2 separate regions of the Homo sapiens genome follow, and region 2 is linked to region 1. The links are contacts of gene promoters, found by promoter capture Hi-C in blood cells and fetal thymus (Javierre and others, 2016). All regions are on one chromosome and are shown on one strand. Each heading gives the region's core, a stretch centred on a gene start or on the middle of the fragment in contact. The rest is flanking DNA. Distances are from core to core; before and after follow the strand shown.

The links. The method cuts DNA at HindIII sites, captures the fragments that hold promoters and counts their contacts. A CHiCAGO score of 5 or more calls a contact.
Region 2: a fragment that was not itself captured here is called in contact with the fragment with the promoter of PCTP in region 1 in 1 of 17 cell types (total B cells); the score reaches 5.8 in total B cells.

Annotation. Positions count from the first base shown.
Region 1 is chr17:55,749,639-55,752,354 of GRCh38, forward strand. PCTP (phosphatidylcholine transfer protein) reads left to right here and starts at 1,413. Exons shown (of 6, transcript NM_021213.4): 1 at 1,413-1,606. The coding sequence starts at 1,466. RefSeq lists a silencer at 1,211-1,550. The HindIII fragment of the contact is 1,470 bases long and covers 14-1,483 here.
Region 2 is chr17:55,357,939-55,360,654 of GRCh38, forward strand. No RefSeq gene overlaps it. Among named protein-coding and RNA genes, the nearest start is that of MMD, 63 kb to the right of the region's middle. The HindIII fragment of the contact is 643 bases long and covers 1,086-1,728 here.

The DNA of each region.
Region 1 (2,716 bases), core at 163-2,662:
CATATAGTAATAAAGCTTTATCAAATCAAACCTTTATAATGGATTCCTTGAAGATACTTGAAAATACTTCATAGCCAATAGTTTTTACACAATTGGTTTTTCAAGCAATGAATTTCCATTTAAATAAAATATGGATTTACAATACATAGAAAATTTACAAGGAGTTATAAAACAGTGGGAAAGTATGTCTAGCCTAAACTTTTGTGCATTTAGTCTAGGAAAATTTCACATCCCTCTTTCCACACCTATAAAGCCAAACAGAACCAGGACTGACTTGAGGAAAGCAATTATTTATCTCTGCTGTGTCTAACTAAGCAAGCTGCCAAATGTGATCATTTGCCTGATTGGAAAATCACATAAATTAAGACTTTGCCATCAACTTTCTTTCAAGTAAGGAAAGAAAAGCATTTCAATATAGTAATGCAAAACAAGTGGAAATTGTTATTGAACATTTACTTGGACGGGCACTGTGGAAAATTATTCCTTGTCCAACCACCTCCTCAGCTGTAACTGGTAGCACAATTCTTGACCCATTTTACAGATTAGGAAACATGAGTTTCCAGAGTTTATTGGCACTCACGTGGCTGTTACATCGTTTTGATGTTCAAACGACCTACTTTATTCAAAGTCAGGTAGTACAGTCTGCTGGTGGGAAATACAGTATTACTCAAGGGACTTCAAAGGAACAAGAAGATGTTTGAGTTGCACAGTGAGCTAAATTATGCAAGTTGCAGAAATCCTAGGTGGATAGTACGACACCTTTCAGATCAGTTTCTACCCTCAAGGGTGGCAACAACCTTGTAGATCCATTATGGATTAGGTTTCTAAACTGTTTTGGTGTTATGAACCCCTAGAGTCTTCTGGGGAATCCAATGGACCTCGTCTCAGAATAATGTTTTACAATGTATAGCAGAAAGAAGAGAAATTATATTGAAATACACTTCTGGCATTTGACCCCTTAGGATTTTTCCAGCATTTCTACTCTGCCCACCTCTCCTCTCATGTCTACCAAAGAGACTTTCTCTACTTTATTCAGAAAGGTAAATGAGAGACACTCAAACAGGTCTGTAGGTTATGGGAGTAGCAGGGAGTATGGGATAGGCTACTGAGGAGCTGTTTTTGAGGTGACATCACTGTCTCCCTTCCTTTTTCCCTTCCCTCTGGAAGCCTCCTTACTTCTCCAGCTCTTCCTTCCTTCCCCACATCAAGTCCAATTTTTCTCCTTTTACTTCTTGTCTATCCTCCTCACTCCTTGCTCAGCCCCGCCCGCTTTTCTAGGCCCGCCCCTCCAGGGCCCCACCCTCAGGCCGCTCCTCCAGTCTAGGCCCCGCCTTCTCCTCAGTTTCCTGCCAATGACGCTGGGGCAGCCGGGGCAGCCGGGGCAGCCCGGTCACCCCGCCCCCAGGCCCACACTAAGGGTGTCCGCGGCCTGCCCTCCAGGCGGAGGAGCCCGGACTGCGGAAGGATGGAGCTGGCCGCCGGAAGCTTCTCGGAGGAGCAGTTCTGGGAGGCCTGCGCCGAGCTCCAGCAGCCCGCTCTGGCCGGGGCCGACTGGCAGCTCCTAGTGGAGACCTCGGGCATCAGCATCTACCGGCTGCTGGACAAGGTAGCGGCCAACCCGCTGGAGGACCGCGGGGCCTAGAATGCGCCGGGGTCGACCTCCCCGCAGGGAGTGCGGGGCGGCAGTCGCGGAAGGGACAGGGGCGCGTCTTCTCCGGCTCAGGAAGGAGCTCCGCCCGGACCCTGTCTCAAGCTCTGGAGCTAGCGCAGGGGCGGTGCCTCCAAGTGACTGCCGTGCAGATCCAGGGGAGTTGGAAGGTCACAGGAGTTCAGCCTCAGGTCAGGCCCGACGGGGCATGTAGTTAGAAGTTAATGACAGTTGAAACGTGGGTCAGCTGGTTCCTAGGCCCGTGCACACGTCTGCAAGGGACGTTGATCCTCACTCTCCAATGCGTGTCAGTGGCATATGGGGGCTGGGGTGGGGGAGGGGCGGTATCTTAGGGCTTGGATATAGGAGGAAAAGAAACAGAACTTTTCAAGGACTGGATGTGCAGGGTGGTGTCAGGGGTTGCCGAGAAGGGCCCTACTGTTTTAGTGACTCGTTTCTTTTGGTTGTTGCCCCTTCCTTCCAAGTTGCTCTTAATAAGTTGAGTCCGAATCTTCAGGCAGGAGTAAAGATGTAGGAGGAATGGGATTGGTTGTTGAAGTCTTTGGAATCAGGTAGCCATCCAGGTGGAAGGCATTGCCCCTGAGGCCTGTCATCCAAGGCTTGTCATCAGTTGCTTTGTGTAATAGTCGCAGCATGGCAAGTAGGTTAAAAGTCGCCTGCAGGTAATGTGGGTGAAACTGAAGTTTCCTAATACAGGACCAGGATATTATAGTGTTAGAGTTAGGAGGATACCTCATGCTCACCTGGTTAAACCCCAGGTTTCATAGGTGAAAGCAACAGGCCTCAAGGGTGAAGTCACTCCTGAAATGGCCCAGATAAGTGAATAGCAGAGGTGGGATTGGAGGGTTCATGATCTTGTGAATGTCAAACATGTGGTTGCCTTTTTAGGCACTTGCATTTTTGTTTACATCAAATATAGTGTTTTTATATTTTAAAACAGAAAACAAACGTTTGCAATATTTAGAAGTTGCTCACCTGTTAAACAGGAATGAAAACTCTGCCTGTCTCATTGCAGGAATGAAAACTCTGCCTGTCTCATTGCAGGGT
Region 2 (2,716 bases), core at 157-2,656, 390 kb before region 1:
AGGGTGAACTCCATACGTAAGAGCATTCTTAAAAATAATGGTAATCTTGTTGGGAGAGCAATGAAGAGGCAGCTGGTATGTGCGTATACAAACAAAATAGCAGAGTATTCAGAAGTTTAATAGGGAGACCACGGAAAGAGACAGCCAAGAAGAGCCCTTCTATGCATACAGTCAAGTCCAATCAGAAAGGCTGTGCTAGGCTGCACTCACTTGGGAAAAATCAGAGCAGGATGTGGGGCAGATTTCATAGCATTTCTCAAGTCACCCACAGGCCCATCAACATAGGGTGGAAATTTTATTGGTAAAAAGGGCATAAGCACAACTTCTGATTAACAACTGACTGAACAATATGTTATTCTGGCGCAGGAGTGACTCCAAGACAGCCAAGCTTAAAAATAAAATCATAGTCATCCCTGAAAGTCTGGAAGACTATGTGCATACCCAAGGCTGCATCCTCCAAGAAGCAATCAGAGAGAGAACCACCAGGCTGCTAGTTCCTAGGTGAACACGGGAGAAAAGTAGTAAGCTCCCTGAACTGTGATAAGAGCCTCCACATCACACATATCATTTCCGACAGTAAAGGGTAAAAAAACCTAACAGACTAAGGACACTGAGGCATAACCTTTGACTAGTAAATGGCTTATGCTGACCTAGAGAAAACCCCTATCTAGCCAGGCTAAAAGATAAAAATAAGGGGGCCAGGTTTGGTGGCTCATGCCTGTAATCCCAGCACTTTGGGAGGCGAAGTGGCAGGGCGGGGGCGGCAGATCCCCTGAAGTCAGGAGTTCGAGACCAGCCTGGCCAACATGGTGAAACACCATCTCTACAAAAGCACAAAAATTAGCTGGGCATGATGGCGAGTGGCTGTAATCCCAGCTACTCGGGAGGCTGAGCTGGAAGAATCACTTGAACATGGGAAGCAGAAGTTGCAATGAGCCAAGATCGTGCCATTGCACTCCAGCCTGGGCGAGAAAGAGTGAGACTCTGTCAGGAAAAAAAAAAAAAAAAAGATAAGAATAAGGGAAAAAAATCTAAGCAGGGACATTAGAAGCTGCACACTGCAATAGACTTTGAAGAACTACTTAAGCTTAGCTATTAAACAAATGACGAAGGAAACAACAAGCCCCAGAGAATCAGCATTCAGAATTGCTATGATATGTGATCTAAAATGTCCAGTTTTCAGTAAAAAGTTGTGAGACATTAAAAGAAACAGGGAAATATGACCCATAAAAGCAGGCAACAGAAACAGCCTTAGAGAAGGCCCAGATGTTGAACTTAGCAGACAAAGACTTCAAAGTAGTTATTATAAATAAGTTCTAAGAAAACATGCATAAAAATAAAGGTATGAGAAGACTTCAAAAAGTTCATGGAAAGTGGAAGCAACAAACAGTAAAAATAAGAAATATAAATTTTATTTCCCAACATAAATTCCATCAAGGTCAAAACAATTTTGTAAGTGATGATACCAGCAGTTTAGTCCATCCCTAAAGAACTGAGGGTCCTGGGAATTTAACCATGTCAGTGCAGTCTTTTTTATATTATTAACTGAATAAAAATGGGTGTCCTTTAAAGATTGTTTAAAATTAGGTGGGGAAAAGAAGTCAGAAGTAGCCAAATCAGAACTGGAGGGCGTATGCTTAAAGATTTCCCATTTAAACTTACAAAATTTCACTTGTTTGTTGAGAGGAATAAGCAGGAGCTTTGTGGCAGAGGAGGACTCTATGATGAAGCTTTCCTAGGCATTTTTCTGCCAAAGCTTTGGCTAACTTTCTCAAAACACTCTCATAATAGGTAGATGTTATTGTTCTTTGATCTTACAGAAAGCCAAGAAGCAAAATGCTTTGAGCATCCCAAAACACTTTTGCCATTATCTTTGCTCTTAACTAGCCCACATTTTCTTTTTCTTTTCTCTTCTCTTTTTTTTCTTTTTTTTTTTTTTTTTTGAGCTGGAGTCTTGCTCTGATGCTCAGGCTGGAGTGCAGTGGTGCAATCTTGGCTCACTGCAACCTCCGCCTCCCGGATTCAAGCAGTTCTCCTGCCTCAACCTCCCAAGTAGCTGGGGTTACAGGTGCTCAACACCATACCTGGCTAATTTTTACATTTTTAGTAGAAACAGGATTTTGCCACATTGGCCAGGCTGGCCTCGAACTCCTGACCTCAGGTGATCTGCCCACCTCGGGCTCCCAAAGTGCTGGGATTGCAGGATTGAGGCTCTGCGCCCAACCCCCATGTTTTCTTTGACTGCCACTTCCACCTCTTGGTAGCCATTGCTTTAATTCTGCTTTGACTTCAAGATCATACTGGTAAAGCCATGTTTTATCTCCTTTTACAGTTCTTCGAAGAAATGCTTTAGGATCTTGATCCCACTTATTTAAAATTTCCATTGAAAGCTCTGCTCTTGTCTGCAGCTAACCTGGGTGAAATGGTTCTGGCACCCATAAAGTAGAAAATTTGCTTAATTTAAAATTTGCAGTCAGAAGTTTTTAAGATAAACTAATTGAGGTATTTATGGTGTTGGTGTTGGCTATTGTTCCTGCTGTTAATTATCAGTCCTCTTTAATTAGGGCATGAACAATATTAATTTTTTTCTTTACAAATTGATGTTCATGGGCTGCTGCTGCAGGCTTCATCTTCAACATAGTCTTATCCCTTCTTAAAAAGAATTATCCATTTGTAAACTGCTGATTTCTGTATTTATTTATTTGTAAACCACTGA